7 separate regions of the Homo sapiens genome follow, and regions 2, 3, 4, 5, 6 and 7 are each linked to region 1. The links are contacts of gene promoters, found by promoter capture Hi-C in blood cells and fetal thymus (Javierre and others, 2016). All regions are on one chromosome and are shown on one strand. The core of a region is centred on a gene start or on the middle of the fragment in contact, and the rest is flanking DNA. Distances in the headings are between cores, read along the strand shown.

Region 1 (3,660 bases), core at 571-3,070:
TGCCTCAGCCTCCCGAGTAGCTGGGACTACAGGCACATGCCACCACGCCTGGCTAATTTTTTGTATTTTTAGTAGAGACAGGGTTTCACCGTGTTAGCTAGGATGGTCTTGATCTCCTGACCTCGTGATCTGCCTGCCTTGGTCTCCCAAAGTGCTAGGATTACAGGCATGAGCCATCGCACCGGCCAAGTTTCACCATTTTGGCCAGGCTGGTCTCAAACTCCTGGCCTCAAGAGATCCACCCTCCTTGGCCTCCCAAAGTGCTGGAATTCCAGGAATGAGCCACAGTGCCTGGTCTCTATTTTATTAATTTATTTTATTTTATTTTATTTTTGAGACAGGGTCTCACTTTGTCACCCAGGCTGGAGCACAGTGGTGAGATCTCAGCTCACTGCAGCCTTGACCTCTGAAGACTCAGGTGATCCTCCTACCTCAGCCTCCCCAAGTAGTAAGTGGGACAACAGGCGCACACCACCACACCTGACAATTTTTGTATTTTTTGTAGAGACAGGGTTTCGCCATGTTGCCCAGGCTGGTCTGGAACTCCTGGGCTCAAGGAATCCACCCGCCTTGACTTCCCAAATGCTGGGATTACAGGCGTGAGCCACCAAGTCTGGCCCAAGACAATTTCTTGTTTTATTTTTCTTTTTTACTTTTGCTTTTGGGTGGGGACAGGGTCTCACTTTGTCACCCAGGCTGGAGAGCAGTGGCCCGATTGCACCTCACTGCAGCCTTGGCCTCATGGGCTCAAGCGATCCTCCCATCTCAGCCCCCCAAGAAACTGGGACTACAGGCACGTGCCACCACGCTTGGCTAATTTTTTGTACTTTTTGTAGAGACGAGGTTTCGCCCTGTTGCCCAGGCTGGAATTTCTCATTTTAAACACAAAACAGATACAAAAGCAAAAGTTCTCCTCCCATACCTCAGTGGACTGTCTTACTCGATTCTCCCTTGGAAACCACTTTCGTAGACCACTGAGCCACCCTCTTGTTTTCCCCTTGGACCCATTTTGCTCATGGAGGCGCCCTGTCTAGTTCCTACCCAGATAGGCCTTGACTTGGTTTTGCACATTCTATCTCTGCCTGCGCTTAGCTCTAGACCTCACGACCTGTTTGTTGGGCGAGTTGCTTCCCTAAGCCCCGATTTCTCATCTGTAAAACGAATGATAGTGTATCTACCTTATGGGATTCCTATGGCAATTACGTAAGGTAGTGCATGTAAAGATGCTAAGTGGCTGGCTACGGTGGCTCACACCTGTAATCCCAGCACTTTGGGAGGCCGAGGTGGGCAGATCATTTGAAGTCAGGAGTTCAAGACCAGCCTGGCCAACATGGTGAAACCCAGTCTCTACTAAAAATACAAAAATTAGGCCGGGCATGGTGGCTCACGCCTGTAATCCCAGCACTTTGGGAGGCCGAGGTGGGCGGATCACAAGGTCAAGAGATCGAGACCATCTGGCCAGCATGGTGAAATACCATCTCTACTAAAAATACAAAAATTAGCTGGGCGTGGTGGCGTGCACCTATAGTCCCAGCTACTCGGGAGGCTGAGGCAGGAGAATCACTTGAACCTGGGACGCCGAGGTTGTAGTGAGCCGAGATCGCACCACTGCACTCCAGCCTGGGCGACAGAGTAGGACTCCGTCTCAAAAAAAAAAGAAAAAGACGCTAAGTGAAGGTAGCTGTTTGCCATTCCTACCATCTGGATGGGCTCTGGCCACTTTAGGGCCCTGAGAGCCCGGCTGTCGAGGCCCCGCCCCGGCCCGCTCTTTGTGACGCGTGGGCGGTGCCCGCGTGCGCCCCGCCCCGCGCCTGCGGCTCTCTCTGCGGCTTGGCCCGTTAGAGGCGGCTTGTGTCCACGGGACGCGGGCGGATCTTCTCCGGCCATGAGGAAGCCAGCCGCTGGCTTCCTTCCCTCACTCCTGAAGGGTGAGAGGTTTACACCTGCTCCAACAGACTCTCCCCGGGCTAGTCCTCTCCCTCCCGAGAGCTCTGCTTTTACGGTTTCTGGATCGCTTCCTCATGGTGGTCGCGCTGGGTCGGCTCCCTAGGTCCTGGGATACTCCCATCTCCCCCCGCCCGCGGCCGGACCTTTGCCTCTGTCTCTAGACTCCCCCCGCCCTGGTCAGCAGGGATAACCCTCACCCCGTTCCTAATTTGCCAGTCTGGGTCTGTCTGTCCTGGTCTCGGAGCGGGTTTTGGGGTTCGGTCCTTCCATCATCCGTTCGCCCGCTCCGCAGTGCTGCTCCTGCCTCTGGCACCTGCCGCAGCCCAGGATTCGACTCAGGCCTCCACTCCAGGCAGCCCTCTCTCTCCTACCGAATACGAACGCTTCTTCGCACTGCTGACTCCAACCTGGAAGGCAGAGACTACCTGCCGTCTCCGTGCAACCCACGGCTGCCGGAATCCCACACTCGTCCAGCTGGACCAATATGAAAACCACGGCTTAGTGCCCGATGGTGAGGGCCAGACTAGGGGGGAAACCGAGGCACCCAGAGTGTTCACCCAAACCTCAGGGCAAAAACCCCTGTGCTCATGTGAGGCGGGGAAGGGCATGGCTGGCACCACACCATGAGCTCGTACTCTCCACCCTCCCCATGGCGTGGAGTCCATTGCCCACAGCCCCACCCCAAGCTCCCCACGGGTTCATCTTCTCCACCCCTGCCCTTTCTCAGGTGCTGTCTGCTCCAACCTCCCTTATGCCTCCTGGTTTGAGTCTTTCTGCCAGTTCACTCACTACCGTTGCTCCAACCACGTCTACTATGCCAAGGTGAGGCCCAGGACAAAGGTTGGATTTGGTGCCCCAGGGCCAAGGGAGAGGCGGCAGCAGTGGGGAGTTGAGGAAGGGTTCCAGGAGAGTCATCCTTAGCTCCTCCTTCCCTGCCATTTTGCCAGTCATTTACCCAGATTATATATGAATACAGTCTCACCTTGGATATTCAGATTGAACAATTCTGTTACTGCAAGAAAAGTAGAGAAGAGACTGGGCATGGTGGCTCATGCCTGTAATCTCAGCACTTTGGGAGCCCGAGATGGGCAGATCACCTGAAGTCAGGAGTTCGAGACCAGCCTGGCCAACATGGTGAAACCCCGTTTCTACTAAAAATACAAAAAAAAAAAAAAAAAATAGCCGGGCTTGGTGATGGGCGCCTGTAATCCCAGCTACTCGGGAGGCTGAGGCAGGAGAATTGCTTGAACCCGGGAGGCAAAGGTTGCAGTAAGCCGAGATCATGCCACTGCACCCTATCCTGAGTGGCAGAGCAAGACTGTGTCTCAAAAAAAAACAACAACAGGGACGAGTGCGGTGGCTCACGCCTGTAATCCCAGCACTTTGGGAGGCCGAGGCAGGCAGATCATGAGGTCAGGAGATCGAGACCATCCTGGCTAACACGGTGAAACTCTGTCTCTACTAAAAATACAAAAAATTAGCTGGGCGTGGTGGCAGGCGCCTGTAGTCCCAGCTACTCGAGAGACTGAGGCAGGAGAATGGCGTGAACCCGGGAGGTGGGGCTTGCAGTGAGCCGAGATCGCGCCACTGCACTCCAGCCTGGGTGACAGAGTGAGACTCCGTCTCAAAAAAAAAAAACAAAAAAAACAAACCCAAAACCCAAACAAAAAGAAGTAGGGAAGAGGGATGGGAAGAGGCAAAGAGATAAGCCCT
Region 2 (3,660 bases), core at 346-2,845, 250 kb after region 1:
GGACTCCTCTGCGTGTGGCACTGTGCGGGCTTGGGGAGGAGTGGCGTGGTCAGAAAGCAGCCATCCCCTTACCGTCCTCATGGTTTTTCTTGGCTCTGCCATCCCAGGGGATGCAAAGCTTCACTCCAAGTTCTGGGATATTCAGGGTGGTAAACTTGCCACAGGATTGTTGCTAGTTGAAATTCTGTTGGGGAGGAGAGAAGCCGGAGAACTCCTACTTTGACATTGTGTTGATGCCACTCTCAAAAAGGGAAATTCTGAATTACCCCATCCTCCCCCATCTCCCTGTGCTACTGCTCTGTCCCCAGTTCCATCCACCTTTCTTCTGGACTACAGCCTTGGCCCCCTAACGGGTGTCCCACCCCCGTGTTGATGTGGGTTGGACTTGGTGTTAGCTTTCTCCTCCCTGTGGTAGAGGATTAGGGTTCTCACAACCAACAGTTACCCCATTGTCAACTGCCATTGCATCCTGTTGCATCTTTTGAAGACCACCATCAAGAGGCTGTCTTTGTTGGTTTTCTGCCAGCTTTTCCTTGTAGACAGGAGCTCCCCTCTACGTGGCCTGTGCTCTGTGGATGTGTCCTGGAGCCTGTACTGACTCCACACTGGCAAAATAGACATGGGTAATGCTGTGGGTGGAACTGTGTCTCCCTCCAAAATCCACGTGCTGAAGCCCTAACTCCCAGGACCTCAGAATGGGGCCTTATTTGGAGACAGGGGCTTTAAAGAGGTGACTAAGTTAAAATGAGGTCATCAGGATGGGCCCTAATCCACTAAGAGAAGATTAGGACACACTCATGCACAAAGGCAAGACCATGTGAAGACATAGGTGGCAGGAAGGCCACCATTAGCAGGCCAAGGACAGAGGCCTCAGAGGACACCAACCTTGCCAACACGTTGACCTCTGACTTCCAGCCTCCAGAGCTGTGAGAAGATAAATCTCTGCAGCTTAAGCTATCGAGTCTGCAGTACTTTGTTATGGCGGCCCTAGAAAATTAATTTAGGCAGCCCAGGTGCAGTGGCTCATGCCTGCAATCTCAGCTCTTTGGGAGGCTGAGGTGGGAGGATCACTTGATCCCAGGAGTTTGAGACCAGCCTGGACAACATAGCAAGACCCCACTTCTTAAAAAAGAAATTAAAAAAAAATTAGCCAGGTGTGGTGGCACGCATCTGTAGCTCTAGCTACGTGGGAGGCTGAGGTAGGAAGATCATTTGAGTCTAGGAGCTGAGGCTATATGAGCCACGATTATACCACTGCACTCAAGCCAGGGCGACACAGTAAGACCCTGTCTCTAAAAAAATACAGGCAGGTATAATTATAAATTTGAATGGTGTCACAAAGGGCTGTGCTTCAGCATCATTTCTTTCAAAATATTTTCCTCCTTTTATTTTGTTGAAAAAAATGTATAAAATTTGTTTTTTATCTAAACACATTAGAACAATTATTAAGAATTCATGAGGTCTGGCCCCAGCATATTGCAGGGGCAGGAGGATTTAACTTTATTTAAAGATACAGCTCACCATTATTTACTTTTCAAAAAAGGAAGTTGGATGTGATATTTTCACAGTCAACCTTAAATGACCCATCCACTCCATTGGATCAGACGCCTTCTGAGGTGTGTGTTTTGCAGCCGCCCCACCCTGATGAGCTCCAGCGACAGAGTTCCTCATATCAGACCCATGAGAGTGGCCTTTTATGGAAGGAGCAGCCGGCTGGCAGCAGCTCCCTAACAATCCTGCAAGCTAAGATCCTCTCGACCGAGCACAGGAGAGAATTCAGGGGCAGGGAGGGGCAAACATTTACTAATAAGAGGGCTTGAGAAGATTTAAAGTCCTTTTTGGGGGTAAAAATAAAAGAAGACAAAAAGAAACCAAAAAAGTAAAAATCATAAATACTCTTTCTGAACCAAAAGGAGGCCAGCCTAGATTTCTGTTCACCAACAAAATGTGAACTTGGCCTCTCTCATTTTATGTCTAAAGTGCACACCTCAGGTCAGGCACGGTGGCTCTCACGCCTGTAATCACTGCATGTTCAGAGGCCAAGGCAGGAGGATTGCTTGAGCCCAGGAGTTCGAGACCAGCCTGGGCAACACAGGGAGACCTGATCTCTACTAAAAATACAAAAAATTAGCTGGGCGTCGTGGCACACACCTATAGCCCCAGCTACTTGGGAGGCTGAGGTGGGCGGATCCCTTGAGCCAGGAGTTCAAGGTTGCCATGAGCCATAATAGTGCCACTGCACAACAGCCTGAGTGACAGAATTAGATCCTGTCTCAAAAAAAAAAAAAAAAATTGCACACATTTCCCTTCAATCAACCTTGGAGAACATTTTTCACTTCGCGTGTGGCTAGATGTTTGAGAGTTGACTGAAAAGTAACACCTGCGGAACATGCAAGAGATCTGATTATTTGAGAAGGCCAGACCATTCTACCCGTTCAAAGAAATTCTGGAAGGGCGTGGTATATGAAGGCTTTTTTTTCCCCAAGAGGCCTCTAAAAGCCAGACGAACTAGGTGCAAATCCCAGCTTTGTCATTTGCAGCTGAATTGGGAAAGTTACCGCTCTGTGCCTCAGTTTCCTCATTTGTTAAATGGGAATCATATCTACCTTAGGGAGTTATTGTGAAGATTAAGTAAGTTAGTACTGTAAAGCATTGAGAACACTGCCTGGCACGTTGTCAGCCATCACTGACGAGACTGTTATTACCTGGACTATACTCACCAGCTCCTCACTGAAATATCTTTATGGGATTATATTTTAGTGTCTTGACCTTTGTCTTTGAGATTGTCTCCATGGAATAGTGTTTCTGTATAAATCCCAAGAAAATAAATTATCTAGGTCCCATTCTTTTTATTTGCATGTGGTTACAATATAAATACACTTGCCATTTTCCTCCCCTTCCAAAACTCTTCCCCATACCTAGGAATCCTACCCAACCCCCTAGTTGTTAATGACTCCCTTTCCTCTCCTCTAGGAGGGGAGGGAAGGAGCGTCCTCCCTATAATTTCATCTTCATGCAGGGTCTACCTCAGTCCACGTGAAGTGTGGAACCCCAAAGGGTCTCTGAAGCTTGGGGATGAGCACCACGAATCCTTTAGAGGGGCCCGTGACGTCCTTGCAGGTGACCGTGTGGCGGCTCCCTCGGTGCCGTGCTCCGGTGCGGCGTGCCGTAGTGGGCAGCAGTTGGTATCATGTGCCCTGTCCGTGCCTGAGGCTGAGCAGCCCCAGGGGGTGGGTGGGTCTGCCGGGAGGCCTCAGGTTTGCTCAGGCAGTAGGGAGAGTCCTGTGGAGGGCACCGTACCCAGCCAGTGCCCACCTGCTCTCAGAGGTGTCTGAGCCTTAATCCCTTAGGGCTCTGCTTCCCCGGGCCCTACTCAGGCCCCTGTGAATCCCACGTGGGCAGGGCAGCCTCAAGGGAGAAGGTGCCCTTGTGCCCCCCTTCTTCTGCCTTTTCTCAGACTCAGTCAGTCATGGGTGATAAATTGGTTCCTTGGGCCCCTGTTAGAGGGTGTGGCACCACAGTGCTCTGTCTCCGCTAGGTGCCAAGCCTTGCCATCTTCCTGGTGGGGTGTAGAGAGCCCGGGAGGGCCAGGGTCCCCCTCTTCGGGAATGGGGTATGGAGGTTCGGGGGTAGCTGGGAGGTCTCCAGGACCCGGTGGTC
Region 3 (3,660 bases), core at 793-3,292, 230 kb after region 1:
TGAATGTTGCAGTGTGAGAGTAGAGGAAAAACACAGTTAGAGGGAGTTTCCCCCACACACTTGCACCAGCAATTTATGAGAGTTCCAGTTGCTCCATATCTTTGCTCATATTTGGTATTGTCAACAACTGGACCTCTGTCATTGTAAAGGAGGATGTTGAGTTTTTTGGTGAAGATGGGTTCCATGTCATCTGTTGACAGCAAGAGCATGATGAGGTAGCATCTGGAAATTTGCATAGAGGAGGTGTGAGCACTCATTGCATGGAGGGAAGGAGCAGGTTGGTCACTGGGATGTAGCAGGATCGCCAGGCAGTGTTAAGGCCCTGGTGGGACCGTAAACTTGAAGTCACAACATGTGAGACTGTCCGTGGTACTCAGAGATTCACTGCAAATGTGAAGAAGGAAATAGTTCAGTTCATCCAGAAGCGGGATGTTTCCATAAAGGTGTGATTAAAGTTCAGAAAAGCAAGGGACTTTATAGTATCAACAAAAGTGACAAAAACAGTGGACTATAGGATGTAAGATGGACAGAAAGGGAAGTGAAAATGGAAGGAGCTGATGCCTGCAAACCAAGCAGAGGAGGCAGAGGACTGGCAGTCCTGAGCGAGGGGCTGAGGCATAGTGGGAATGGTTGAGCAAGAATTGAAGGTTGTGGTCAAAGAGTTTCCACATCTGAAAAGTGGAGGAAATGGCGAGTTGTAATGAGGATTAAAAGTGATAGAACTTGTGCTTCATATGCTGTTACACATTGTATCAATGTTTGTTTGTTTCAATAGTCTACAAGCTTCTTGAAGGTAGGAATCATGTCGCAGACATTCCTGTCCCTAGCATGGCACCTGATGCCAGCAGGTGCTTAGTGAACCTATGAGTGAATCTCTTAGAAGGATGAAGGAAAGAACTGATTTCCCTATAAGACTTTAGTGCTGTGAGAATTTTCTGGACTCTCTCGTTTTAATTTTCTGGACTCTCTAATTTTATTTTTATTTTTATTTTTTATGTTTTTGAGACAGAGTCTCTCTGTGCTGTCCAGGCTGGAGTGCAGTGGCACGATCTTGGCTCAGCACAACCTCTGCCTCCCAGGTTCAAGTGATTCTCCCCTCTCAGCCTCCCAAGTAGCTGGAATTACAGGTGTGCACCACCACACCCAGCTAATTTTTTGTATTTTTAGTAAAGACGGGGTTTCGCCATGTTGCCCAGGCTGGTCTTGAATGCCTGAGCTCAGGCAGTCTGCCTGCCTTGGCCTCCCAAAGTGCTATGATTACAGGTGTGAACCACCATGCCTGGCCAATTTTTTTTTTTTTTTTAATTTTTAGTAGAGACAGGGTTTCACCATGTTGGCCAGGCTGGTCTTTAACTCCTGACCTCAAATGATTCACTCGCCTCGACCTCCCAAAGTGCTGGGATTACAGGAGTGAGCCACTGCACCCGGCCTTTCTTGATCTTAATTGATCTAACAGGCAATAGTTTGTTCAAAATAATAATAGCATCGTGTATTTGGTCATATATATATATGTTACACATAAGTAAAATGAATGATGGTAGTAATACAAAGGATGGGGGAAGTAATTAGGATTATTTTGTTATTATAAGGTACTTGCACTACATGTGAAGTAGTATGGTGTTATTTGAAAGCAGACTTGGATTAGTTTTAACTGTATATTGTAAACTCCAGAGCAATCACTAAAATAAAAGAAATGGAAAAAAAACAAGTATAGCTGATATGCTAAGAGCAAGGAGAGAAAATGGAATAATACAAATGCTCACTTAAAATTACAAAAGCCAGAAAAAGAGCGGAAGATAAAAGTAGGAACAAACAAGAGCAACAATGAGAAAACAGTAACAAATATGATAGGTATGAATCCAACTATGTCAATAATCACCTCGAATGTCAGTGGGGTCTGAATGCATCAATTAAAAGACAGAGACTGTCAGAATGAATTTTTAAAAAGCCCCAACTATATGTTGTCTACAATAAACCCATTTTAAATATAAAGGCACATACAGACCAAAAGTGAGTGGATGGAGAAAGATATAGTTAGCATTAATTAAAACATAGTGGGGCTGGGTGCAGTGGCTCACATCTGTAATCCCAACACTTTGGGAGGCTGAGGCGGGTGGATCATGAGGTCAGGAGTTCGAGACCAGCCTGCCCAACATGGTGAAACCCCATCTCTGCTAAAAATACAAAAATTAGCCAGGGCTGGTGGCGTGTGCCTGTAATCCCAGCTTCTTGGGAGGCTGAGGCAGGAGAATTACTTGAATCCGGGAGGCAGAGGTTGCAGTGAGCTGAGATTGCGCCATTGCACTCCAGCTCTGGGAGACAGAGCAAGACTCCATCTTGAAAAAAAAAAAAAAGGAAAAAAAAACAACAGTGGGCGTAGCTATATTAATTTCAGATGGAGCAAATTTCAGAGTAAGCAAAATTATCAGGCAGAAAGAGGGGCATTAGTTTCAGATGGAGCAAACTTCAGAGTAAGCAAAATTATCAGGCAGAAAGAGGGGCATTACATAATGATAAGGGGGTCAATTCTGCAAGAAGACATAATCCTTGCTGTGTTGCACCTAATAACAGAGCATCAAAAATACATGAGGCAAAAATTGTTACAATTGCAAGGAGAAATGATGAATCCACTATTAGAGATGGAGACTTCAACATCCTTCTTCCAGAAATGGACAGATCCAGCAGGCAGAAAATCATTAAGGATGTAGTTGAAATCAGCAACACCATAAATAACTGGATATAATGAACATCTGTAGACTGCTTCACTCAGCAATGCATTCTTCTTACAGTCACATGGAACATTCACCAAGATAGACCACACTGTGGACCATAAAGCACACCTTAACAAATTTAAAAGAGTAGAAATTATGCAATGCCTGCTCTCAAACTACAATGAATTAAAGTAGAAATCAATAACAGAAAGATAGCTGAAAAATCTCAAAATACTTAGAAATTAAACAATGTGATTCAAACAACCCGTGGGTCAAAGAAGAAATCGCAAGAGAAATTTTAAAATATTTTGAACTAATGAAAATGAAAACACAACTTATCAAAATTTGTGGGATACAGCGAAAGTAGTGCTTAGAGGGAAATTTATAGCATTGCATGCATTATAGTAGGAAAGAAGAAAGATTTATTATACAATCAACTACCTTAGAAACTAGAAAAAAAAGAGTAAACTAAATCCAAAGCAAGCAGAAGAGAAGAAATATAACGATTAGAACAGAAAGCAATAAAATTGAGAACAGGAAATGAGTAGAGAAAATCAACAAAACCAACAACTGGTTCTTTGAAAAGCTTAATAAAATTGGTAAGCCTCTAGTGAGACTAACCAAGAAAAAAATCAAGACAGAAATTACTAATGTCAGAAGTGAAAGAGGGGACATCACCACAGAGCCCATAGAAATTAAAAGGAGAGGACCGGGCACGGTGGCTCATGCCTGTAATCCCAGCACTTTGGGAGGCCGAGGCTGGTCGATCACTTGAAGTCAGGAGTTGAGACCAGCCTGGCTAACATGCTGAAACCCCATTTCTACTAAAAATACAAAAAATTAGCCGGGCATCTTGGTGCGCACCTGTAATCTCAGCTACTCGGGAGGCTGAGGCAGGAGAATCCCTTGAACCTGGGAGGCGGAGGTTGCAGTGAGACGAAATCACACC
Region 4 (3,660 bases), core at 1,161-3,660, 240 kb before region 1:
CTGGCTAATTTTTGTATTATTAGTAGAGATATTATTTTACATTATTAGTATTATTTCACCATGTTGGCCTGGCTGGTCTTGAACTCCTGACCTCAACTGATACACCCACCTCGGCCTCCTAAAGTGCTGGGATTACAGGCGTGAGCACCGCGCCTGGCCAAGGGTTTCTATTGACAAAGAAGTGAAACTCATTGTGCAAGTCGCCTAGCAAGTGGATCGTGATGGCTTTGTTTATACATCATTGAGGAAGAAAGTAAAGAACTTCTTGGCCTGGCCAGGTATGGTGGCTCATGCCAGTAATCCCAGCACTTTGAGGGACTGAAGCCGAGGATCCCTTGATCATGGCTCAAGGTGACAGTGAGCTACTTCGCCACTGCACTCCAGCCTGTGTGACAGAGTAAGACCCAGTCTCTAAAATATAAGGAAATAATCATAAAAATAAAGAAGTTTTTGAGAGCCACAGAGAAACACTAATAAAAAATCTTGAGGAACTGATAAAAATCACCCTCAGGAGAAAAAGGAAAAGACCAAACTAAAGCTTCATAAATTTACTGAAGTGTTTCATGCTGCAAAATGTCTGAATAATTTTTTTTTTGCATTATTCCTGATATATTACAAGTCCTCAACAGGGCTTTATTTTTTTTCTTTTCTTTTCTTTTCTTTTTTTTTTTTGAGACAGAGTCTTGCTCTGTGGCCCAGGCTGGAGTTCAGTGGCACAATCTCGGCTCACTGCAACCTCTGCCTCCCAGGGTCAAGCAATTCTCCTGCCTCAGCCTCCCTCGTAGCCAGGACTACAGGCACACGCCGCCATGCCTGGCTAATTTTTTGTATATTTAAAGTAGAGATGGGGTTTCACCGTGATGCCCAGGCTGGTCTTGGACTCCTGAGCTCAAACAATCCACCCACTTTCGCCTCCCAAAGTGCTAGAACTACAGGCGTGAGCACCGCGCCTGGCTATTTTCTTTTTTCTTTTCTTTTCTTTTCTTTTTTTTTTTTAAAAAAACAACTTTAGACTTTAGATATATGTGGGGAAAAGCAAAAGAGATCAGATTGTTACTGTGTCTGTGTAGAAAGAAGTAGACATAGGAGACTCCATTTTGTTCTGTACTAAGAAAAATTCTTCTGCCTTGAGATTCTGTTAATCTATAACCTTACCCCCAACCCCGTGCTCTCTGAAACATGTGCTGTGTCAACTCAGAGTTAAATGGATTAAGGGCGGTGCAAGATGTGCTTTGTTAAACAGATGCTTGAAGGCAGCATGCTCCTTAAGAGTCATCACCACTCCCTAATCTCAAGTACCCAGGGACACAAACACTGCGGAAGTCCGCAGGGACCTCTGCCTAGGAAAGCCAGGTATTGTCCAAGGTTTCTCCCCATATGATAGTCTGAAATATGGCCTCGTGGGAAGGGAAAGACCTGACCATCCCCCATCCCGACACCCGTAAAGGTTCTGTGCTGAGGAGGATTAGTAAAAGAGGAAGGAATGCCTCTTGCAGTTGAGACAAGAGGAAGGCATCTGTCACCTGCCTGTCCCTGGGCAATGGAATGTCTTGGTATAAAACCCGATTGTATGCTCCATCTACTGAGATAGGGAAAAACCGCCTTAGGGCTGGAGGTGGGACCTGCGGGCAGCAATACTGCTTTGTAAAGCATTGAGATGTTTATGTGTATGCATATCTAAAAGCACAGCACTTAATCCTTTACATTGTCTATGATGCAAAGACCTTTGTTCACGTGTTTGTCTGCTGACCCTCTCCCCACAATTGTCTTGTGACCCTGACACATCCCCCTCTTCGAGAAACACCCACAAATGATTAATAAATACTAAGGGAACTCAGAGGCTGGCAGGATCCTCCATATGCTGAACGCTGCTTCCCCGGGTCCCCTTATTTCTTTCTCTATACTTTGTGTCTTTTTCTTTCCCAAGTCTCTCGTCCCACCTTACGAGAAACACCCACAGGTGTGGAGGGGCAACCCACCCCTACAGATATATTTAGGGCTGTTTGCATATGTTTATAGAGTATTTAGTTTACTCTAAAAGATGACAAGACAGCTCCCCTCAGTGAGACCCTGGCCTAAATATATTTGCTTTATTTATATAGCAAGAGGATAACATTAAACGTGGAAGCTTTCAATTTGTGGCACTGAATGATGATCTACACAGGGCATCCTTCAAAGGCTACAATTAAGGATCCACTGGCCAGGCATGCTGGCTCACGCCTGTAATCCCAGCACTTTGGGAGGCCAAGGAGGGCAAATCACGAGGTCAGGAGTTCGAGACCAGCCTGACCAATATGGTGAAACCCTGACTCTACTAAGAATACAAAAATTAGCCAGGTGTGGTGGCGCACGCTATAATCCCAGCTACTCAGGAGGCTGGGCAGGAAAATCACTTGAACCCGGGAGGCAGAGGTTGCAGTGAGCCGAGATCCTGTCACTGCACTCCAGCCTGGGCGACAGATCAAGACTCCATCTCAAAAAAAAAAAAAAAGGATCCACCTAACTTTTCAGCAGTACAAGCCCGATTGAGATCTTCTGGTCCGTTTGTTTGCCATTCATGTTTTATGCCTTGAAATTTCTTTTTGATTGCATCCTTGGAGCTTGTATAGATCATTTTACTTTTCAAAGGTGCTAGTTCTGATGCCCACAAGAAAACATCAATTCTTCTGGATTCTTTTGTTTCAAAGCTTGCATCATACAAAGCATAGCAACAATCTTTTTCAGGAAGCATTCCCACAAAATGCTTGAAAGGCTCACTTATAGTTACACCAACATCTCCAACCAAGATCTCTTTGCCTTCTACATGATGCACTTTTTGTCTGCACTGAGACAAAAAAATGACAGCCTTTGTTCTTTTCTTGATTTCTTCTGGTGTGGAGCATTTACGAACTCTCATGTCATAAAAAATGCGACACACTTCATCAGCAACTTGCACTCCTGAGGCACGTTGTTCAGAGTTCTGCTCTGCCGAGCTTCCAGTCTTTACATTCAATTTCCTATCTCACATCTCCAGTTGTATGTCTCAAAGGCATCTGATGCACAACAGGTCATCTTCGCCCACCACCACAGGGACGCGGGGGAGGGAGCCGGCGGGTAGTGAGTCTGGGCAGCGTCCTCCTCGTGGCTGCGGGACTGAGAGGGCGGGTAGTGAGTCTGGGCAGCGTCCTCCTCATGGCTGCGGGACCGAGAGACCCAGCGCGAAGCTGATGCAGCGGCTCGAGCCTACCCGTTTTTTTTTTTTTTAAGCGTCCTCTTCTACAGCTTCCTTGGCTCTTTGTGCCTATATGCCGAAGAGCTGGGCATTTGCATGGGCCATACAGAGACTAACAAGGCCTGGAAGTTTTCCTCCTAGTCAGCGATGACTCTGGCTTTCTCCTTGTAGACATTGCCGATGGGCATTTCTGGTCCTGTCAGCTGAGTATCCAGTTCGAGTTCTTCAGCAGAACTGTCTCCCTTCTTGGGGGCCAAGGGCTTCCTGGGGAAGAGGATGAGTGAGGAGCGGTCCTCCTTCAGCCTCTGCACCTTGGCCTGCAGGGCCTGGGTGGACTGGTTCCTCCTCCTTGCATCCTCAGAGATGCCAATGGTCTGGGCCACCTTCTTGTAAATGCCAGCCACCCTTAACTCCTCCAAGCTGAGGCCCCTGCCAGCTTGTGCTTTGTA
Region 5 (3,660 bases), core at 1-2,500, 200 kb after region 1:
AATAACTTTTAATTAAAGTATAATATACGTACAGAGAGGCACGCATGATTGTAAAGCTTAAGAATTTGTACAAATTTGGCTCACAGGCATAACCAGCAGCAGATCAACAAATATAAAATAGCCGGGTGAGGCAGGGAATTGCTTGAACCCGGGAGGTGGAAGTTGCAGTGAGCCGAGATCACGCCACTGCACTCCAGCCTGGGCAACAGAGTGAAACTCCGTCTCAAAAAAAAAAAAAAAAGAAAAGAAAGAAAGAAAATAGCCAGGTGCAGTGGCTTACGCCTGTAATCCCAGCACTTTGGGAGGTTGAGGTGGGTGGATTGCTTGAGCTCAGGAGTTTGAGACCAGCCTGGCCAACATGGTGAAACCCCGTCTCTACAAAAAATACAAAAATTAGCTGGGTGTGGTGGTGCACACCTGTAGGCCCAAGCTACTGGGGAGGCTGAGGTGGGAGGATCGCTTGAGCCCGGGAGGTGGAGGTTACAGTGAGCTGAGATCATGATACTGCGCTCCAGCCTGGGTGACAGAGTGAGATCCTGTCTCAAACACCACCAACAAAAAACAAAACAAAGTATATTAGGGATTCCCAGGGGCTGGGGCTGGGGCTGGGGTTGGTTGGGGGGAAGAAATGGGGAGTCATTGCTAAGGGGTACAAGTTTCTCTGGGGTAACGAAAATGTTATAGAATTAGATAGTGTTGATGGCTGCACAACCTGTGGATACACTAAAATAAATAAATAATAAATAGTTACTTGATTACAGTTACTTAGCCTTTATTTTGTTTGTTTGTTTTTTGACAGAGTCTTGCTTTGTCGCCCAGGTTGGAGTGCAGTGGCACGATCTCGGCTCAGTGCAACCTCCGCCTCCTGAGTTCAAGTGATTCTCCTGCCTCAGCCTCCCTAGTAGCTGGGATTACAGGTGTGTGCCACCACACCTGGCTAATTTTTTGTATTTTTAGTAGAGACGGGGTTTCACCGTGTTAGCCAGGATGGTCTCAATCTCCTGACCTCGTGATCCGCCCGCCTTGGCCTCCCAAAGTGCTGGGATTACAGGCGTGAGAATTTGCCTTTAAAATATACATTTTGCTCAAGTGTAGAGGTCCGATGCTGGGTGGCTGGGTGTTAATTATCCTGGGGGCGGGTGTGGTAGGGCACTAGCTGGGCTGGGCTGGGCTCGCTGGCGGCTGGTTTGAGAGGAGGGTGATTCAGAGGAAGGCAGTGACACCCAGATGTGGGACAGGCTGCAAGAAAGCCTGGTGGGCCTTAGGGCAGACACTTGTGGGGACCCGGGGAGCCCTAGGTGCCCTGACAGGTGGAAGAGGGGTGCAGAAAGGGAGGATGTCAAAGAGAGAATGTCAAAGGTCATAACCAAACCTAACAATTTTCTTCTACTTATGCCTTTTGTCAGGACAAGGAGAGGGACAAATTCCTTCTTGGCATCCTTATGGCCCTGTGACCTGCTAATGAATGCTGACTCTGAGTTGCTACTAGAATTTGGTTTCCTTGTGGCTTCCCAGGAATTGTGAGCCATGTTGGATAAGGACCTGCAAGGGAAGAATGAGGAAGCCTGGGACAGTGCAGGAGGGGAGAGCACTGGTGGTAGAGAGGAGTGATGACAAGGGTCTCCGCCAAAAGGGAAATGGAGGGGTTAAAGAAGCTGCTGGGGAGGGTTAAAAACAATGTGTTCTCACTCGTAGGTGGGAATTGAACAATGAGAACACTTGGACACAGGAAGGGGAACATCACACACTGGGGCCTGTCGTGGGGTGTGGGGAGGGAGGAGGGATAGCATTAGGAGATATACCTAATGTAAATGATGAGTTAATGGGTGCAGCACACCAACATGGCACATGTATACCTATGTAACAAACCTGCACATTGTGTACATGTACCCTAGAACTTAAAGTATAATTAAAAAACAAAACAAAACAAAACAAAAACAATGAGGTGCTATTGTTTTAGTGGTGAGTATCCGGAGACCTGGGAGTTCTATTTACCAGGTATAACCTGGGCTCAAAATTCCAGGCTGACTTCAGGCATGTCCTCATCTCATAGATGCCAGCACTAAGGCCCAGAGAGGGCCGAGCTCATTCAGCCCACCCATCTTCTCACCCCTGACTGCATTTCCCGGGGGTCCTTCTGCAGCCAGGTGCTGCTGTGGTACTTTGGGATCTATTGGCTGAGCTCCCAGAGAAGGGTCATGGATTGGGCTAGTTTGGAACAAGTGAAGGGACTGAAGATGGGCTCAGTATGGGGCGAAGACCTTCAGGAAGGGTCTGCAGAGTGAGTAGGGGGGTTTTGACTAGGAAAAGTTCCAACCCTGCCGGGGCCGCTGTCAAGAGAAAAGCATCTATTACAGTTACATTTTTAAGTTAAGTAGACTGAAGAATATTTCTTGTGTATTAAAGACGTTCCTTTTTGGTTGATTTGCAATGGAAAAGCTTTTGTTTTCTTTTTTTTTTTGGAAACAGGGTCTCACTCTGCTCACTCTGTCTCCCAAGCTGGAGTGCAGTGGTACAGTCACGGCTCACTGCAGCCTCCACTTCCTGGACTCAAGTGATCTTCTCACTTCAGCCTTCTGAGTAGCTGGGACTACAGGTTCGTGCCACCACGCCTGGCTAACTTTTTGTATTTTTAGTAGAGACAGGGTTTTGCCATGTTGCCCAGGGTGTTCTTAAACTCCTGGGCTCAAGGGATCCGCCTGCCTTGGCCTCCTAAAGTGCTGGGATTACAAGTGTGAGCCACTGCTCTGGCTTTTTGTGTGTGTGTGTGTGTGTGTGTGAAAAAGGGTTTTGCTCTGTTACCCAGGCTGGAGTGCAGTGATGTGAGCAGCCTGGACCTCTTGGGGACCTCTTGGGCTCAAGTGATCTTCCCATCTCAGCCTCCCAAGTAGCTGGGACTGCAGGTGCACTACCATGACCAGCCAATTTTTTTAGAGACAAGGTCTCACTATGTTGCCCAGCTGGTCTCAAGCTCCTGGGCTCAAGTCTCTACAAAATATGCAAATACCCTTCTGCCTTGGCCTCCCAAGTGCTGGGATTATAGGCATGAGCCACCACATCTGGTGTTGGTTTTTGTTTTTGTTTTTACGGGACCAGGCACTACAGCTCACACCTGTAATCCTGGCACTTTCAGAGGCTGAGACTAGAAGATTGCTTGAGCCCAGGAGTTCAAGGCTGTGGGGAGCTATGATTGCACCACTGCACTCCAGCCTGGGTGACAGAGCTAGACCTTGTCTCTAAACTAAACAAAACAAAACCCAGTACCAAGAGACCCAGTGACACCAAACACGTTTTGCAAGTAGGTAGTTTAATAGTTACAGTTACCTGGTTCTAAAAAGTGTCTTGCTAGAGAACATTTGTTCAAAGGGGCCACTTTAAAGCCTGCTATTCTAGTGTATACTGGCCGTAGTTTCTGAAATTGTAGCGAAGATGGAGAAATAATAACAGCATTCATAAGCACAACTGCAGATATTATACTTCTTAGTTTAAAAAAAACCTTTTTTTTTGGAACTATAAAATAAAAACACAGGCTACATACATACTCATTTTCTCAAATTGGCTTTTGTGCAAAAAAAGGTTGTTACCTATTGGGTTGCTTTGTTATTTCCTTAGAAAGATGTATTCCAAATTCCCAATGGCCAACCTGCACATGTGCACTCT
Region 6 (3,660 bases), core at 329-2,828, 190 kb before region 1:
CCCCTTGAGCTCTAACCACATTTTAGACTTAGGCTGGGGGTCCAGAGTGAACAGACTTGATTTGCCATCACTTGCATTGCTATCTTTTTTTAAAAAGTTAAAAGCAATTTTTTTTATATTAAGAAGAGATCTCACTATGTTGCCCAGGCTGGTCTCAAACTCCTGAGCTCAAGTGATCCTTTCACGTCAGTCTCCCAAAGGGCTGGGATTACAGGCGTGAACCACTGCGCCCGGCCTGCTTTGTTATCTTGGGCAAGTTGCTTCACCTCCCTGAGTCTGTTTACTCAAGGTGTAAAATGAGGCTTATCATAGCACCTACCTTACAGAGATATCATGAAAATTCAATGAAATCAGGTATTTATGCAGCTTAGCCCAGTATCTGGCTCATAAAAAGTGTTCACTATTAACATATTTAATCCAATCTAAGATGCATCACTAAGAAAGAAAAGATGCTGTCAATTCTAATTGAAACAATGATCCATTGCTGAATGCACCTTGATTTCAGAGATGTCAAAATGTGAAGAAATGTGCATCTTAGAATTGACAAAATACAGCATAGAAAACTAGCAGCTAGAGTCTACAAGGGCTTTATAATTTACAAAGTACTATCGCTTCTTCATCTTCAAGGCCCTGGGAGGGGGCTGTGGTCACTCTTGTTCTACGGATGAGAATAGGAACCGTGTCCGCATCTTTCGCATCCAATATGGTGCCTGGCTCAGAGCAGGTCCCGCTAAAATGTTGGTCGAATGAATTAATTAATGGGTTTCCTCACTCCAAGGACGTGCTGTACTAATGCTCGGAGCAACGCGCTATTGCGGGTCGGGGAGCTCCCTTCCCCTCCCCCCATGCCCTGCCTTCCGGGGGACAGGGGGTCTTACCTCTGCCAGAGTAACGTCAGCACAGGCTTTCCTGGCATCCTGCAGGGAAAGCAGACATCAGGGGAGCAAGGGCGAGGTGGGGGTGGCAGGTGCATGGGCCTTCAGGGCAGGTTGGTCTTGGGGCTCTGGGGCTTGGGGGTCTCAAATATGCGAACCAAGTTTAGAAAGTCCCTGGTCACTTCTAGTCACTCAAGAGCAAACCCAGCCCCCTCCCCCTGGGCCACGCTCCTCATGTCCCCAGCTGTTTTCTGGGGCCCCAGGGGTAGGGCTCTGGAGTTACTGCAATCTGCTTCTTGAGCTGCTCCGCTTCCTGACGCAGTTGCTCCATCTCCCCCATGGCTGACAGGTCGAGGGGTCACTCTGGCTCCTGCCAGGAACATGGGGTCGGTGTTGAGGAACCCCCCACCAGGCTGTGCTTCTGCCCTTCGTGCCCACACCAGACTCCAAGACACAGGGAAACGACTGGGTGGCTGCACCCTCTCCCCAGCTAGGCCCTCCAAGTTTGAGGTCCTTTGCGTCCAGCCCCAGCCTGCCTGAGCCCTGCCTGCGCCCCAGCCCAGGAGAGCAGAGCCCAGGCCAGCTCCCTCTTACTTGGGCTCTGGCTGGACCTCGGCCGGGTTTCCAGCTCCGGTTCCTGGGAGCCTCCTTACTCCCTCAGCTGCGACGCCCGCGCCCGCCCGTCACCTGCCCAGGCTCTGCTGCCAGAGGAGCTGGCCTGGCCTGGCCTGGCCCCGACCGGCGGGGGGTTGGGGGGGCCTGACAGGGAAGGGTAGAGCCAACCACAACGTCAGGCAAATGAAATCAGCTGGCAGGGGTGGGGGGAAGGGGTGGGGGGAGGGAGGGAGGTGTACGGATTCCAGAGAGACTTGGGCCCAGCCGGGAGGAGGGTTGGGGGCAGGAGTGTGGGGCCATAGAGAGGGGCAGCCCCCACCACAAGCCCTGAGAGAGGAGGGGGTGAAGGGGTGCTTCCCTGGTCAGTCTCTGCAGGCAGAGATAAGAGCATCAGGCCCCACAGGATTAGAGCAAAGCTGTGAGGATTAAGGGTTGGGGTTTGGGAGGGGTGCAAAGGAGCAGACAACTACAGCTCCAGTGGCCCCCCTGGTCCCGGCCCCCATCCATGGTGATGATCTTGGCAGTCAGGGCCACTTAGCAACCAGGCCAGGAGGTGGGATATAAGGGTGATAGATGGCCCCATTGTCAGTACCTCAAACTGTGCTCCTCAGCTCAGGGTGGTGGGGAAGAGGGTTTGGTGAGTATGGGAGGGTACAGGCAGGAGCTGAGATTAGAAAGGACTGATCTGGATAATCCTTCTTCTCGACAAACCCCAACCAGCTGCCTCTGGGTCTGATCCTGTTGGGGGAGAAAGGTACAGGGGACCCACAGAGAAGGATGGACAGGTCTGCCCCTATTGTGGGCGGGCAACGGATTTCAAGTGGAGGGAAGGCCCGCACGCTGCTCCCAGGCTGGGGTCTGGCCCCCTCCTTGCCCTCTCGAGGCTGTGAAAGCAGGGGTCAGAGAGAAAGCAGGCGGCCCTAAGTCTCAGCAAAGCTCAGAGAGGGAAGACAGGGCTTACACTTGGAGGCCTAAGGAGCAGCTGCCAGGGGCTTGGGTCATTTGCATGAGGGGAGCAGGTGGCTGAGATTTCCCTGACAAATCACAGGCTCCAGGCGCCCCGCCTCTGGGAGGCCCAAAGACACCTGTCTCCTCCCAGGCCAGCCAGAGCCACCCCCACCTCCAGCCATCACAGAATCTGTGATACACTTGACTGGCCCCTGGCTGAGAGATCTTCACGACCTTTATTGCACAGACTGGGAGAGAGGAGCAGGGTTATACCTCCCAACCCCACCATCCTCTTCATTTAAAGCATCAGCCTCCTCCCCTGCCATTTCTGTTCAGGGAGGCACAGTGTTCCCCATCTGTCCAGGGCTGCAGGTCCGGCAGCGGGGCCCCGTCCCAGCTCCCCAGGCCTGGTGAGCTCCAGGCTAGCCTGTGCACTGTCCTCTGAGTCCAGGCCCTTGTAGGTCCCCAAGATGGTGGGGGTGCAGGGACAGAGAGCTTGCTGTTCTGCTCCTGATGTCACACAGGGGCTTCCTGTGTGTCCTGGCATCAAGATGGCCTTCCACAAGTCAAGTGGCCACATCCTCAAGGAGCTGGCTCAGCCACTCACAGCTCCTCCCGAACCCGAGGTGCCCTTCCAGTCTTGTCTTGGACCCTCTGGTGCCTGCGGCTAGGGGGCTCTGGGGAAGGGTCTTTGCTGGGCATTTCTTCCTCTTCCTCTTCCTCCTCCTCCTGTGACTCCTGCAGCAGTTCTTTGGCTTCTATCCACTCCTGGGGTTGGGGAGGAGAGTGTGGCCCATTCCCTGCACCCACCTTCCCTGGGTCAGCTCAGCCCCTGACCCTCACCGACTGTGAGCCTTCTCGGGGGCTCCTTGCCCACCCTTCACGCACCAGGAGAACCACATCCCTTCCTACCCCGCTCCTTACCTGCTCCCTGTGCTCAGGTGCCCACGTGTGCCACAGTGCCAGGGCACAGCGCCGTCCCCGAGTCACGGCCCACACCCCATGGGGATTCTCGACACCGGAGCTGAAGGCCACAAGGCGCCCACAGCGAGGACGCACCCGAGCCTGGAGGGATGAGGGCAGGTTCAGCTCCAGGGATTGGCTCTCTCAGAGAACTTGGCCCTCACTCCCTAGAGCAGGATGGGGACAGGGGCACAGAGAGGATCAGCTCTCTCGCTACCACTTCCTACTCCTTAATTCAGGGACTAGCTTGGGGCAAATG
Region 7 (3,660 bases), core at 477-2,976, 170 kb after region 1:
GGTGCCATCGATCTATGTGTCTGTCCTCCCACCAATACCACACTGTCTTGATTACTGCAACTATATAGTAGTAAGCATGAGATAGTTATTCCTCCTATTTTATTCTTCTTTGTTCTTCTATAGATAAAATCTATTTATGAGTTGGCCTGAGAGTAAAGACTATTTAAACACGAAAAACTAAGTGAAAGCCAGTAACCAGGGAAGTTGCTGAGTCCCAAAGACTATTTTGCTCTGAGGGTATTTGCTATAAAGTTTAATATGAGCGTAGCAGCCTCACAGGCTACCACTGTGGCACAGGAAATAAAGCCCAGGGCTTACCCAAGGTTGGAAATCTAATAGAAAGTCCTTACCATAAAGTCAGAACCCCAAAGGACTATATCCTCATCTAAGAATGAATTACGAATATACTAGAACCCAAACTGCCCCAGAGCACTCCGTGGAATGTTGTTTGTCTGGAACCCAGGTGCCTGCTGGAGTTCTTTTATTTTTTTCTTTTAAGTATTTGCAGAGAATGTATAACCACAGGCTGTGGTGTTTCTGCCTGAACTCTTTGTTGATCCTAAAAAGAAAATGGCAAGAATTTAAAGTGGTTTTGGATTGACAGTACCACCAAGAACCCAGCAGAAGCAATGCAGATCCTTTCTGGATGAACTCATCTTTAATCTAGGCCTCGGGGAATTTCCACAGATACAGTTCCAAGAAAAATAAATTGTGGTCAAAAATTCCAAACAAATAAGGAACAAGGCACCAAGAACAAGAACCAGCAGAGATGGAGACAGGAAATAAGAAAGATAATTAGAAAATTAAGCCAAATAGTCCAATATCTAATTAATAGTCCGATGTCTAAAAAGAGAAAACAGGATATGTGAGGGAGAGGGAGAAAAAAGGGTGTGTGTGAGATTGATTTTAAAAGAAATACAAGACTCGCGCCTGTAATCCCGCACTTTGGGAGGCTGAGGCTGGCAGATCATCTGAGGTCAGGAGTTCGAGATCAGCCTGGCCAATATGGTGAAACCCCGTCTCTACTAAAAATACAAAAATTAGCCAGGCATGGTGGCAGGCGCCCGTAGTACCAGCTACTCAGAAGGCCTCGCGAGGTGCCGGGATTGCAGACCAAGTCTTGTTCACTCAGTGCTCAATGTTGCCCAGGCTGGAGTGCAGTGGCATGATCTCGGCTAGCTACAACCTCCACCTCCCAGCCGCCTGCCTTGGCCTCCCAAAGTGCCGAGATTGCAGCCTCTGCCCAGCCGCCACCCCGTCTGGGAAGTGAGGAGCGTCTCCGCCTGGCCGCCCATCGTCTGGGATGTGAGGAGCCCCTCTGCCCGGCTGCCCAGTCTGGGAAGTGAGGAGCACCTCTTCCCGGCCGCCATCCCGTCTAGGAAGTGAGGAGCGTCTCTGCCCGGCCGCCCATCGTCTGAGATTTGGGGAGCGCCTCTGCCTGGCCGTGACCCCGTCTAGGAGGTGAGGAGCGTCTCTGCCTGGCTGCCCCGTCTGAGAAGTGAGGAGCCCCTCCGCCCGGCAGCTGCCCCATCTGAGAAGTGAGGAGCCCCTCCGCCCGGCAGCCACCCTGTCTGAGAAGTGAGGAGCGTCTCCGCCTGGCCGCCCATCATCTGGGATGTGAGGAGCCCCTCTGCCCGGCTGCCCAGTCTGGGAAGTGAGGAGCACCTCTTCCCGGCCGCCATCCCGTCTAGGAAGTGAGGAGCGTCTCTGCCCGGCCGCCCATCGTCTGAGATGTGGGGAGCGCCTCTGCCCGCCCGTGACCCCGTCTAGGAGGTGAGGAGCGTCTCTGCCTGGCAGCCACCCCGTCCGGGAGGGAGGTGGGGGGTCAGCCCCCGCCCGGCCAGCCGCCCCGTCCGGGAGGGAGGTGGGGGTCGCCTCTGCCCGGCCACCCCTTCTGGGAAGTGAGGAGCCCCTCTACCCGGCCACCACCCCGTCTGGGAGGTGTACCCAACAACTCATTGAGAACGGGCCATTATGACGATGGCGGTTTTGTGGAATAGAAAAGGGGGAAAGGTGGGGAAAAGATAGAGAAATCAGATTGTTGCTGTGTCTGTGTAGAAAGAAGTAGACTTGGGAGACTTCATTTTGTTCTGTACTGGGAGGGGTTCTTCTGCCTTGGGATGCTGTTGAGCTGTGACCTTGCCCCCAGCCCTGTGCTCTCTGCGGCCTGTGCTGTGTCCACTCAGGGTTAAATGGATTAAGGGCGGTGCAAGATGTGCTTTGTTAAACAGATGCTTGAAGGCAGCATGCTCCTTAAGAGTCATCACCACTTCCTAATCTCAAGTACCCAGGGACACAAACACTGCGGAAGGCCGCAGGGTCCTCTGCCTAGGAAAACCAGAGACCTTTGTTCACTTGTTTATCTGCTGACCTTCCCTCCACTATTGTCCTATGACCCTGCCAAATTCCCCTCTGCGAGAAACACCCAAGAATGATCAATAAAAAAAAAAAGAAAATGGCCAAAAGACATGAACCAACATTTCATCAAATAGGATAATATATACAAGGCAAACACTTTAAAAGATATTTGATATCATTAGCCATCAGTGAAATAAGAATTAAAACCACAATGATAGCACTGAACACATATTAGAATGGTTAAAATAAGAAAAATACAGCTGGGCATGATGCCTATAGTCCTAGCTACTTGGGAAGCTGAAGTGGGAGAATTGCTTGAGCTCAGGAGTTTAAGACCAGCCTGGGCAACACAGGCAAAGGCAGTTTCTTATAAAACTAGAGATGCAATTACCTTACTGCCCAAGCATTGCACTCAGGCATTTATCCCAGAGAAATGAGAATTTATGTTCACACAAAACCTGTATGAAAGTTCACAGCAACTTTATTTGTAATAGCCCAGTGCTGAAATCACTCCAAATGTCCTTCAGCAGGTAAATGGTTAAATGTACCACGGAATATTAATCAGTGGTGAAAACTAATGATACACACAATAACTTGGATGGTTGAAAAAGTAATGATACACACAATAACTTGGATGAATGAAAAAAGCCAATCTTGAAAGGTTACGTGATATAGAAAAAAGCATGACTACATTTACATAAGGCTCTTGAAATAAAGTTACAGAGATGGAGAACAAATTAGTGTTGCTAAGGTTTAGGGATGGCGGTGGGTTGGAATATAAAGGGGTAGCACATGGGAGCCTTGCAGTAATGTGAAAATGCTGTATCCTAACTGTGGTTGTGGTTACACAAATCTACACATGATACAATTGCATAAAACCACTCAAACACACACGAACACAAAAAGAAGTGTTTGGTGGTACATGCCAGTTTGGAAAATCGGTGAAATTTGAATAAACTCTGGATTTTGCTAATGATAATTTCCTGGTTTTAATATTTTAATAATTTTAAACTGTATTTATACAAGATGTTACTGTTGGGGGAACTGGGTAAAGGGGTTTAGGGGAACCTCCCTGTATTGTATTTTTTTTTTTTGGCCACCTTATATGAATCTATAATTACTTTAAAATAAAAAGTTTAAGGCCGGGCGCGGTGGCTCACGCCTGTAATCCCAGCACTTTGGGAAGCCGAGGCGGGTGGATCATGAGGTCAGGAGATCGAGACCATCCTGGCTAACACTGTGAAACCCTGTCTCTACTAAAAATACAAAAAATTAGCCGGGCGTGGTGGCGGGTGCCTGTAG

What was found. Contacts are between HindIII fragments. The CHiCAGO score rates a contact against its expected background, and 5 or more counts as called.
Region 2: a fragment that was not itself captured here is called in contact with the fragment with the promoter of ACRBP in region 1 in 4 of 17 cell types (non-activated CD4 T cells, naive CD8 T cells, activated CD4 T cells and 1 more); the score reaches 7.3 in non-activated CD4 T cells.
Region 3: a contact is called between a fragment that was not itself captured here and the fragment with the promoter of ACRBP in region 1, in 2 of 17 cell types (naive CD4 T cells and total CD4 T cells). The highest score is 5.3, in naive CD4 T cells.
Region 4: a fragment that was not itself captured here is called in contact with the fragment with the promoter of ACRBP in region 1 in 3 of 17 cell types (non-activated CD4 T cells, activated CD4 T cells and naive CD8 T cells); the score reaches 6.4 in non-activated CD4 T cells.
Region 5: a fragment that was not itself captured here is called in contact with the fragment with the promoter of ACRBP in region 1 in 1 of 17 cell types (non-activated CD4 T cells); the score reaches 5.2 in non-activated CD4 T cells.
Region 6: the fragment with the promoter of GNB3 here is called in contact with the fragment with the promoter of ACRBP in region 1 in 14 of 17 cell types (activated CD4 T cells, naive CD4 T cells, non-activated CD4 T cells and 11 more); the score reaches 19.4 in activated CD4 T cells.
Region 7: a fragment that was not itself captured here is called in contact with the fragment with the promoter of ACRBP in region 1 in 4 of 17 cell types (non-activated CD4 T cells, total CD4 T cells, total B cells and 1 more); the score reaches 6.0 in non-activated CD4 T cells.

What each region holds. Positions count from the first base shown.
Region 1 is chr12:6,645,592-6,649,251 of GRCh38, reverse strand. It overlaps ACRBP (acrosin binding protein), which reads left to right and starts at 1,820. Exons shown (of 10, transcript NM_032489.3): 1 at 1,820-1,928; 2 at 2,240-2,458; 3 at 2,675-2,769. The coding sequence starts at 1,886. RefSeq lists enhancers at 1,893-1,962, 1,886-2,399. The HindIII fragment of the contact is 16,958 bases long and covers 1-3,660 here.
Region 2 is chr12:6,390,741-6,394,400 of GRCh38, reverse strand. It overlaps LTBR (lymphotoxin beta receptor), which reads right to left. Exons shown (of 10, transcript NM_002342.3): 10 at 2,835-3,660. The coding sequence ends at 3,464. Among named protein-coding and RNA genes, the nearest start is that of LTBR, 8.4 kb to the right of the region's middle. RefSeq lists an enhancer at 2,928-3,660. The HindIII fragment of the contact is 2,950 bases long and covers 121-3,070 here.
Region 3 is chr12:6,413,721-6,417,380 of GRCh38, reverse strand. No RefSeq gene overlaps it. Among named protein-coding and RNA genes, the nearest start is that of CD27, 29 kb to the left of the region's middle. The HindIII fragment of the contact is 2,514 bases long and covers 786-3,299 here.
Region 4 is chr12:6,884,186-6,887,845 of GRCh38, reverse strand. All of the region lies in intron 1 of LOC105369632 (a long non-coding RNA gene), which reads left to right. It also overlaps the pseudogene RPL13P5 and the pseudogene DSTNP2. Among named protein-coding and RNA genes, the nearest start is that of SPSB2, 13 kb to the right of the region's middle. RefSeq lists enhancers at 1,145-1,692, 3,339-3,660. The HindIII fragment of the contact is 559 bases long and covers 2,131-2,689 here.
Region 5 is chr12:6,445,897-6,449,556 of GRCh38, reverse strand. The region is part of intron 2 of CD27 (CD27 molecule); the gene reads right to left. It overlaps CD27-AS1 (CD27 antisense RNA 1), which reads left to right. Exons shown (of 6, transcript NR_015382.2): 2 at 820-917; 3 at 1,407-1,520; 4 at 2,470-2,596. Among named protein-coding and RNA genes, the nearest start is that of CD27, 2.8 kb to the right of the region's middle. RefSeq lists an enhancer at 3,322-3,441. The HindIII fragment of the contact is 2,383 bases long and covers 59-2,441 here.
Region 6 is chr12:6,838,843-6,842,502 of GRCh38, reverse strand. It overlaps GNB3 (G protein subunit beta 3), which reads right to left and starts at 1,578. Exons shown (of 10, transcript NM_002075.4): 1 at 1,470-1,578; 2 at 1,159-1,245; 3 at 879-917. The coding sequence starts at 1,215. P3H3 (prolyl 3-hydroxylase 3) reads right to left here. Exons shown (of 15, transcript NM_014262.5): 14 at 3,363-3,503; 15 at 2,656-3,206. The coding sequence ends at 3,042. The HindIII fragment of the contact is 12,557 bases long and covers 1-3,660 here.
Region 7 is chr12:6,473,607-6,477,266 of GRCh38, reverse strand. No RefSeq gene overlaps it. Among named protein-coding and RNA genes, the nearest start is that of VAMP1, 4.8 kb to the right of the region's middle. The HindIII fragment of the contact is 6,710 bases long and covers 1-3,660 here.